3 separate regions of the Homo sapiens genome follow, and regions 2 and 3 are each linked to region 1. Evidence: promoter capture Hi-C in 16 types of primary human blood cells and fetal thymus (Javierre and others, 2016). All regions are on one chromosome and are shown on one strand. The core of a region is centred on a gene start or on the middle of the fragment in contact, and the rest is flanking DNA. Distances in the headings are between cores, read along the strand shown. Region 1 holds the start of NEURL2 (neuralized E3 ubiquitin protein ligase 2). Region 2 overlaps TP53TG5 (TP53 target 5). Region 3 holds the start of SDC4 (syndecan 4).

Region 1 (3,415 bases), core at 916-3,415:
AGCTGCCACAAAGCTGCAGCCCTGTTTATATCATAACACTTAGCACAATCCCTTCCCCATTCACTTAGCAGCTTCTGGGGGCAGGGGTAGTGTCTGATTTGCCTGTGCAACTGAAGCCTCCAGCACAGGCCTGGCACAAAGAGGGTTCTGGTGCATTGAGTTCATGAAATGTGATGAGAGGTATAACTGCAATGCTTACCAGGGCTATAATGAATCATACTCAGCATTAAGAAGCTCTCAGTCTGGGGTTTGTTATGCCTCGAAGCCAATAGCCAATATGCCCAAGTCTATGAGCATGTTTCTTTCTTTTCTTTCTTTTTTTTTTTTTATTTAAAGAGAGAGGGTCTTGCTCTGTCACCCAGGCTGAAGTGCAGTGCTCAGTGAACTGCAGCCTTCAATTCTTGGGCTCAAGCGATCCTCCTGCCTTAGCCTCCCAAATAGCTGGGACTACAGGCATGCACCACCATGCCCAGATAATTATTTAATTTTTTGTACAGATGGGGTCTCACTTTGTTGCCCAGGCTTGAGCTAGCTAGCTTGCTTGCTTGCTTGCTTTCTCTCTCTTCCTCTCTCTCTCTCTTTCTTTTTTTTTTCAGAGTCTTGCTCTGTTGCCTAGGCTGGAGTGCACTGGTGAGATCTCGGCTCATTGCAACCTCCACCTCTCGGGTTCAAGTGACTCTCCTGCCTCAGCCTTCTGAATAGCTGGGATTATTGGCACATGCCACCACACCCAGCTACTTTTTGTATTTTTAGTAGAGACAGGCTTTCACCATGTTGGCCAGGCTGGTCTCGAACTCCTGGCCTCAAGTGATCTGCCTGCCTCCCCCTCCCAAAGTGCTGGGATTACAGGTGTGAGCCACTGTGCCCGGCCAAGCATGTTTCTAAGAAAAGGGCAAACAATTCTCAAAGAGGCCCCTAATATCTAAAATTGGTTTAGAATCCCTGCCCTAGGTGAATACAGGAAACACTATCAAAACTAAAAGGGAACTTGTAGGGCATCTTAATCAATCAACCAAGATAGGTACCAAGGCCCAAAACCATGTAGAGGCTTGTGCAAGATCACAAGCAGAGGTGCAATTTGAAGCTAGATTCTCCCACTCTTAAACTAGTGCCGGACAGACGAAGGCCTAGCACATGGGCTACGGAGCCCTAGTAGATTCCAGTCCCCACACTGAGCCAGGAGGGGTCGCTGCCCAGGGATACCTACAGCCATACTCGAGCTGGACAAGGCGCACGCTCTTTGTGGAAGCAAACACGTCCACCACCGCGTAGAGGGGCTGCGCAGCTGGCAGTCCCCGGGCGCTCGGGCCCATGTCCTCGCCGTTGATGATGATGTGCATGTCGGCCGTGCCATCGGGGCGCGGGCAAAAGAGGACACCCAGGCGGCTACGGCGCGCGGTCGGAGGCAGCACGTTCAGCTCATAGAGCTGGTCCAAGAGATGGCTGTAGAGCCCTGGCCGGCTGCGGCCCACCAGGCGGTCCCGGGGAATGCGAAACTGCTCAATGCGCAGATATGGTTCCACGAGGAGGGTTGGAGGTCGGCTGGGGGCCGCTGCCTCCGCCTCCGGGCGGCCCTCCCGGGGCACGCGGTTGTGGTGGCGCGTGATGGCGAAGACCCAGGTGTGGCCCAGGTTGACCAGATCGGGCAGAGAAAACTCGGGAACGGGGGCCAGACTGGCGGGGTCCAGCGCGGTCAGACCGAGACGCAGATGTCCGCACCAGCCCAGCTCTTTCTCCTCGATCTCGACCAGGAAGACCTGGCCCGGGGCCAGCGGCTCGCGGCTGAAGCACACGCCGTGGGCGAAGCTCTCCACGCGTGTGGCCCGCGTCCCAGAGGGGTCCACGCGGATGTTGGCACCGTGCACCCGATGGAAGCGGGTGGGAGGGGGCTCCGGGCGCTCGAGTCCCCAGAGTGCACCCGAATCCACGGGCTCGGAGGCAGCAGCCATCTCTCGGCCATAGGGCAGGCCAGCTGGCGCCGGGGGCTATTTTGGGCGGCGGGCAATGATGGTGACCGCAAGGCGACCTTGTAAGGCATTTCCCCCCTGACTCCCTTCCCCGAGCCTCTGCCCGGGGGTCCTAGCGCCGCTTTCTCAGCCATCCCGCCTACAACTTAGCCGTCCACAACAGGATCATCTGATCGCGTGCGCCCGGGCTACGATCTGCGAGGCCCGCGGACCTTGACCCGGCATTGACCGCCACCGCCCCCCAGGTCCGTAGGGACCAAAGAAGGGGCGGGAGGAAGACTGTCACGTGGCGCCGGAGTTCACGTGACTCGTACACATGACTTCCAGTCCCCGGGCGCCTCCTGGAGAGCAAGGACGCGGGGGAGCAGAGGTGAGCTGGCACCGGAGGCTGGAGGGGATCCCCGAGCCCGGGATCGGTGCGCGGCAGAGGAGGCTCGCGGGTGGGAGCTGGCGCTGGGGCCGGGGCTTCCCTCGCGGAGGCGCCGCCAGCAACTCCCCGGGGGCTGCTGCACGGAAGCGCTGAGGAGCGAGTCAACAGCCCCTCTGCTGCCTCCCGTAGATGATCCGAGCCGCGCCGCCGCCGCTGTTCCTGCTGCTGCTGCTGCTGCTGCTGCTAGTGTCCTGGGCGTCCCGAGGCGAGGCAGCCCCCGACCAGGACGAGATCCAGCGCCTCCCCGGGCTGGCCAAGCAGCCGTCTTTCCGCCAGTACTCCGGCTACCTCAAAGGCTCCGGCTCCAAGCACCTCCACTACTGGTCTGCCGCCCTGCCTTCTGGGCGGGATTGGGAGAAGAGATGACGGATGAGGGATGGGGGGTAGTTCTGCAGACCCCTGAGGATGCCTGGGAGCCGGGAGGGCTGGAAAGGGCCCCTCCAACTGCGCCAACCCTGCCCTGACCCCCCTCCCAGGTTTGTGGAGTCCCAGAAGGATCCCGAGAACAGCCCTGTGGTGCTTTGGCTCAATGGGGGTCCCGGCTGCAGCTCACTAGATGGGCTCCTCACAGAGCATGGCCCCTTCCTGGTGAGTGGACAGCAGGGGGAAAGCACAGTTCCCAAAGTAAAAGGCTGGGGAAAGCGAGAGAGGGGCTTTGTGATTTTCCAAAAAGTTTCCTTCCTTCTAAGCCTCGGGATTTTCCTCTATGCCATTGGCTTTGCTGCCTGTACCTCTCAGAGGTTTTACCCACATGTAAAGTGCCTCTCATGGTGGCCCTTTCCCTCCACCCAGCTGGCCCTTGGGACTTACTCAGCCATCTCTTTCCTCCTCAGGTCCAGCCAGATGGTGTCACCCTGGAGTACAACCCCTATTCTTGGAATCTGGTATAGCTGGAGCTGTGGGTGTGTCTGGGCACTTGGATGGGGTGGCATTTAGCTAATTTTTCCCTCCCCTCTAGATTGCCAATGTGTTATACCTGGAGTCCCCAGCTGGGGTGGGCTTCTCCTACTCCGATGAC
Region 2 (3,022 bases), core at 215-2,714, 520 kb before region 1:
CTACCGACAGAGGGTGACCCCGGCCAGATGGGGTCGACCAGGGCTTGGGGTTGAGGTCTTCAGATTGAGGGTGGACCTGCCATGTCACCCTGGAGCAGTAGAGATGCAGTACCAGCTCCCCCTCCTGATCCGGTGCCTTCTGTGATCTGTGACCAAGGCAGGACACATTTGGAGGCCCAGCTGACATCCACTTTTTGACACCAGCCACAGTGCAATCAGTTTTTGACAATCAATTTTTGACAATCAGGTCGCAATGCACGCGCATGACCTACAGGGTGCTGGGGCTATTCCGCCTGCCTCGTGACTTCTGAGCAGGCTCTCATTTCGCCTTTTCCCTTTCTTGGGAAAATGGAATGGGGAGCAACCAGGAGCCCTTGCTCCTGCCACTTTCTAGCTGAGTGAGCCTGGGCAAGTTACTTGCTGCCTCCGCGCCGCGGTTTCCTCTTGCGAGCTCGCGGGGCGATTGTGAGGCACTTTGCACCCAGGAAGCACACGAGCGCCCTGACTTCACAGAGCGCGCCACTCAGGAGACTAGCTCGCGGAGGTGGGGGAGGGGTGCTGCTCGCTGGCTTCTTTGGTTCTAGACTGACCTTAGGGGCCTCGGGGTGGGGGTGGGGGAAGCCTGAAGTCGCGACACAGGCTCCCTCTACCGAAGGCCTCTTTCCTTCATCCTTCCCAGCCCCAGACAAACAGGCAGAGTAAGCAGTATTCGTCTTAGGTGCCATATGGAAGATCTTATTTGTAGACTCGTGAATTTCGCCACCCATTCCTCCCCTTCAGCTGATGGCGCGATCTCCACCCTCTGCTCGCACCTCTGGCTCTCGTCCAGGTCACATCAACCTGCCAGCAGAAACCTCGGTGTTAGGCGCTAAGACTGTCCCCAGGGGGCGCTGGTCGTTTGGGGAGCGGGCGCAGGGACAAGGGTGCTGTGGTGTCTGGTAGGTTGGAAATGCCTTTGCTAAAAAGGAAAAGCCTCCCTTTAAGCTAGACCCGGTGGGCACTCACCCCCTTCCTTTCGTGGGACTTTCATTCTCCCACGAAAGGGCTGCGGTATTTTCTTCTTTTTTTGCTAAGGAACTTTCTGCTCAGAGTAAATCTTTTTTTCCTTTCTTTTTTTTTAAGACAGGGTCTTGCTCTCTTGCCCAGGCTGGAGTGCAGTGGCGAAGTCACAGCTCACTGCAGCCTCGACTCCTGGGCTTAAGCGATCCTCCGACCTCAGCCTCCTGAGTAGCTGATACTACAAGCGCAAGGCACCACATCTGGCTAATTTTTAAATTTTTTGTAGAGACAGTGTCTCATTATGTTGCCCAGGATGGTCTTGAACTCCTGGCCTCAAGCAGTCTTCCTGCCTCGACCTCCCAAGGTGCTGGGATTACAGGCGTGAGCCACCATGCCTAGCCTGTTCAGAGTAAATCTTATTTGAGGCATGAATCAATCAAACATAAATAGAGAGTTGAATTGATCTTAGAGGGAATGGGATGCAGCAAAGCCCTACTTGACCATCTCCCCCCTCCCACATTTGGAAATCCTTAAACCCACTTATGTAGGCCTCTGACTGTGAGATTCAGAGCCACAGCAGTTTCCACCTCTGCTAAGGCCTTCAGGCAGTGAGATGGCTCACTTCAGTGCCCCTCCTTCCACACATCTCCTAGCTGTATCCTGAGACGCCTCAACCTAGTCACTACCCTTCTGTATGATGTTGGTCTAAGGCTTCCCCCTCTCTGGACATGAAGGCGGAGCCTCCCAGCACTACCAGCCACACACCACTCAAGACTCCAGATCCTGAACCCTGACTCTGGGGCCCAGCTCTGGGCCTGGCTTGGGGCTTGCATCTCACCTAGCCTGGCAGTGTTGTTGTCACACCCACCTTGTATGGATGCCACATAGGCATTTCAAGTGATGCGGAGCAGAAGCGGGTGCAGCGGCGCTTGACCCAACGCAGGGTGGAGGATCTGCACATCACCCTGGGCGCCGGGAGGTGGATTCGTGTGGGCAGCCCCTCAAACCAGATCCACTGGTCGGCTACATCCAGCTGCTTCATGTGCCCCATGGGAGTTCTATTGCGGTAGGGCTTAATGAAGATGACTCGGGGGCCCTCGGTGAGTGGTTGCCTCCCCTGGACTCCAGGGTTCAAGCTATCATCCCTCGATGTCCTTGGAACCTCAGGCTCTATATGCTTTTCTTTCCGTGGCATTGCCGCCAATGACGTTTTCTCCTTGTTCCTCATCCCTGACTGCACCTGGGACTTCCACTCCTTGTACTCTTTTTTCTTAGGGTCCCCTGTGGACTCTAATTTCTTGGACTTGAGTTCCTTCTCGGAGCACCCGATCTCCTGGAACTCTTCATTATTTTGTTTTGTTTTATTGCAGGCACTGTTTTCCCTGGCAGGGAGAGGAAAGGCAGTCAGCACAGCAGGACCGAGGCCCTGGTTCCCGAGACAGTTGCTATGTAGCCAGCTCAGGGGAGCCTGTTAAGAAAGGCTAGAGGGGCCTGCAAAGAAACTTCTCTACTGCCCAGAGGCCTTGTGCTGGTGTGAGGAGGTGTGATGAGCACTAGCAGAGGGATGTGAGAGATTGGGAAGGTGAAAGCCATGACTAGTAGTTAAGGCCCCTAAGAATGAATATTGTCTACATCATCTGCCACTAGATTAGGGTTCTGTCTCTCTGGACTTCAGCTGGGAGGGTGAACAGTCCAGTAGTTTTTCTAAATTGTGCTCCAAGAACCTTAGGGTTCTGAGGAGGTGTCTCAATGTCACCTCCCCTGACCCACTGGGGCAGGATACCTCTCCCCAGCTCATAACAACACAATTGGGGCTTGGAAATAGATATTTGAACAGAGGTTTCACTGCTTTAATAAAGTTGGAAAACTGTTCAAGACCAGCCTGGGCAACATGGTGAGACTCTGTCTCCATACAAAAAAAAAATTTTTAAGTTGGAAAATGATGGGGCTAGATGATCCTGATCCTTCTAGCTCTATGTTTCCTGATTGCCTGCGACTAGAGGCCAAATCAGAAAGAGGAGCC
Region 3 (3,305 bases), core at 457-2,956, 540 kb before region 1:
ACATTTTAGGCAAGGTAGCCTTTGGTTTAGGTTAAGTCATCACCTCACTCTGGCCTTGTTTCCTTCCACCTCAGAATTCCTTTGCCTTCCAGCCTAAAATCTCAACCTATTCTAAACCCGTCTTTAGTTACCAACGATGGGACACCTGGAGTAGCACAAAGAGTAGAAGTTAAGCTAAAGCAGAAACTTGAAAGCCTGGCTGCCTAAATTTCAATCTGACTCACCCATTTATTGTGTATTAACTGTGTGACCCTGGGCAAGTTACTTAACCTCTCTAGCCTCAGGACCAGTTTAAGAACAGTACACAGTAAGATTGTTGTTGGAATTAAGCTCCTGGATATACCCATTAGAAAGTTATTAGAGCAATGTCTGGCCCCCCGACAAAGGCGCTCCACGTTTGCAATCATCATGGCATGCCTGGAATTGTGCTGGAAGTATTGCCTAGGGTCTCATTCATTCCTCAAGAAGAGCCTGCAGGCAGAATCAACCTTCCGCTAAGTAAATTCAGAGGAACAGGAGCCCCAAGGCTTTCAAAGAAATTAACATTAATGGTTAAACTGCAAGGACTCACTCGCTCTGAAAACTGGGGCTAAAGGGCACAAAGGGGGCACAAAGCTCAGGCTGTGGGGGACAGATTGCCTTCACCAGTAATTCCCATGCCCCCCAACTTCCCAGATGAGATTGCCCCCCTCCTCCTAAGCCGGCTGCGGGCATGGATAGAGCTTCTGCTGGCCCAGGGACAGCTATGACGGAGGCCAGTGGACAGTGAGAAGGAAAGGTTTCCCTGGGCTGATTGAGGCCTTCTCTCCCCCCTACCCCCTTCACCTCACTCAAGGTGGATGCTTCAATTTTCTTATCTGCAATTGAGAAAAAATGAACACACTTCTTGCAGAAAGCAGAGGCTCAGCTCCTGGCTAAGTGTTGAGTCTAAACCATTCCTCTCCTCTGTCCTCGAAAAGAGCAGAGTCCCCAACTTTCTAGAAACCCTAACGCAGTGTCCCCTCTTGCCCCATTCCCTCAGACCCTTGGTGCAGTATTGGGAAGAGATTCAGAAGGGCAGGACTTTGCCCTAAGTCACAAGTCAATGACAGAGCTGGGGCCAGAACTGAGGTTAGGGCTCAGTTCTCCTTGGTGTGTGAAAGAGGGCCTCGCACAACCCTAAAACCCTCCCCCTTCCGAGTACACGCAGCCCCCCGACCCCCAGGGCCATCTCGGATCCTAAAGCTGTCTGCTCTGGGCGCCCCGAGAGCGAGGAGGGGATTCAGCGCTCCAAGCCTGCCCCAGGGTCACCAGGGAAGGGACGAGGGTGTGGGAGTTGAAGAGTTGACACCGGCTTAGTCACTAACGAGCCCGTAGCCCGCGGCGGGGCTGAGGCCCGGGGAGGCGGGAAGAGCAACAGGCGAGGGGCGCACGGCGCGTGAAGCCATCCCGGAGGCTGGCCCGTGACCCCGGAGCAAAGTTTCCAACAAAGTTTCCCGGGCCTCGGTGTCCGGTTGGGGGTAGCGTACCCCCGATCTGCCCCCCCCCATCCCACGCTCCGACGAACAAAGGAGGCACCGGCCTGCGCCCCCGCTTCGCCCCCAGCCCGGGAACCTCCAAGCACCCACCGACTCGGCGACTCCGCCTACGAAGAACAGCAGCAGCGCGAACAGACGGGCGGGGGCCATGGCACCGCGGACTGGAGAAGGCGCGCAGGCTGCGGCGAGTGGCCCCGGGCGGGCGCGCCACCCATCTTATAGGCGGCCTACCGGCCCCGCCCCGGCCCGCCCCCGCCCCGCCGCCCGCACCCCGCCCGGAATTCCCCAGTGGAAGCGAGGCCTGCGGGGCACTGCGCCCGCCCGCGGAGTTGGAAACCCCAAGGGACCCGCCCTGCCCGAGCCCGCCGGCTCCTACTCAACCCCTAGTCCTACCCTCCGGGAGCTCCAACTCCCTTTATTTATTTGACCCACTGCCAGGCAGGTCCCCAGAGATCACTGCGGCTAACCCCATTTTATAGTTGGGGAAACTAAGGCCCAGGGACGGGAAGGACTTCCCTAGGGTGTTGAGTTTAGACCAGCCTTCATACCGGGTGTGCTCCCCTCTGAAGACACAGAACTTCCCAAATGGGATGTGAACCGTGTTAAGACAGGGGACAGCAAACTATTCTGTAAAGGGCTAAATATTTTAGGTTTTGCGGGCCATACGATCCCTGTGGCAACTATTCAAACTCGAGCGTCGTAGCTCAAAAGCAGCCATAAATACTAAAGGAATGAGGGCAGCTAGGTCCTAATAAAACATTATTTATAGACACCGACATTTGAATTTAATATAATTTTCATGTGTCACGAAATATTATTATTCTTTTGACTTTATTCCCAACCATTTAAACATGCAAAAATCGGCTGGGCTCTATGGCTCACGCCTGTAATCCCAGCACTTTGGGAGGCCGAGGAATAGGAGGATCCCTTGAGCCCAGGAATTGGAGACCAGCCTGGGCAACCATAATGAGACCCCCATCTCTACAAAAAGTTTTTAAAGAAATTAACCAGGCATTGTGGTGCACCCCTGTGGCCCAGCTACTCTGGAGGCTGAGGTGGGAGGACTGCTTGAGCCAGAGAGGTGAAAGTTGCAGTGAGCCATGATCGCTCACTGCACTCCAGCCTGGGTGACCGAGTGAGACCCTGTCTCAAAAATAAATAAATAAATAAATAAATAAATAAATAAATAAATAAATGACATTTTATAATAAAAATGCAGGCCGGATGCAGTGAGTCATGCCTGTAATCCCAGCACTTTGGGAGGCTGAGGCGGCGGATCACTTGAGCTCAGGAGTTTGAGACCAGCCTGGCCAACATGCTGAAACCCCGTCTCTACAAAATACAAAAATTATCCAGGCATGGTTGCCTGCGCCTGTAATCCCAACTGCTCTGGAGGCTGAGGCAGGAGAATCGTTTGAACCCGAGGGGCGGAGGTTGCAGTGAACTGAGATCTCCCCACTGCACTCCAGCCTGGGCAACAGAGCAAAACTCCGTCTCAAAAAAATAAAAAATAAAAATGCAAAAACCATTCTTAGCAGTGGGCTGAACAAAAATAGGCGGTGGGCCTCAGCCACTCTGAGACCACTCTGACGCTGGTCTCAGAGTGGCTGACGTCTGTTCTAAGGGCTTCATCTACCAGATTTTGAACTTTTTCAAAAGTTTGATCTCTCTGAGAACTGGTCTGCAAGTTTATTTCCATTCTTAGGGTAAGCTTCCACCCTTTATAAGAGAAAGTTGTGTGTCCTCCTTACCCTTCATCCTCCTAACAGTGCATTGGTGGGAGCAGGT

Evidence for each region. The method cuts DNA at HindIII sites, captures the fragments that hold promoters and counts their contacts. A CHiCAGO score of 5 or more calls a contact.
Region 2: a fragment that was not itself captured here is called in contact with the fragment with the promoter of NEURL2 in region 1 in 1 of 17 cell types (non-activated CD4 T cells); the score reaches 5.6 in non-activated CD4 T cells.
Region 3: a contact is called between the fragment with the promoter of SDC4 here and the fragment with the promoter of NEURL2 in region 1, in 3 of 17 cell types (M0 macrophages, M1 macrophages and endothelial precursors). The highest score is 6.9, in M0 macrophages.

What each region holds. Positions count from the first base shown.
Region 1 is chr20:45,889,043-45,892,457 of GRCh38, forward strand. NEURL2 (neuralized E3 ubiquitin protein ligase 2) reads right to left here and starts at 2,166. Exons shown (of 2, transcript NM_080749.4): 1 at 1,208-2,166. The coding sequence starts at 1,949. CTSA (cathepsin A) reads left to right here and starts at 2,293. Exons shown (of 15, transcript NM_000308.4): 1 at 2,293-2,337; 2 at 2,527-2,720; 3 at 2,874-2,985; 4 at 3,231-3,281; 5 at 3,356-3,415. The coding sequence starts at 2,527. It also overlaps a transcript of SPATA25 not described here. RefSeq lists enhancers at 1,631-2,340, 2,580-2,629 and a silencer at 2,270-2,539. The HindIII fragment of the contact is 4,274 bases long and covers 1-3,415 here.
Region 2 is chr20:45,373,172-45,376,193 of GRCh38, forward strand. It overlaps TP53TG5 (TP53 target 5), which reads right to left. Exons shown (of 5, transcript NM_014477.3): 4 at 1,868-2,381; 5 at 1-840. The coding sequence ends at 736. All of the region lies in intron 3 of SYS1-DBNDD2 (SYS1-DBNDD2 readthrough (NMD candidate)), which reads left to right. It also overlaps a transcript of SYS1 not described here. Among named protein-coding and RNA genes, the nearest start is that of TP53TG5, 3.6 kb to the right of the region's middle. RefSeq lists an enhancer at 172-231. The HindIII fragment of the contact is 5,473 bases long and covers 1-3,022 here.
Region 3 is chr20:45,346,718-45,350,022 of GRCh38, forward strand. It overlaps SDC4 (syndecan 4), which reads right to left and starts at 1,707. Exons shown (of 5, transcript NM_002999.4): 1 at 1,608-1,707. The coding sequence starts at 1,667. The HindIII fragment of the contact is 6,082 bases long and covers 1-3,226 here.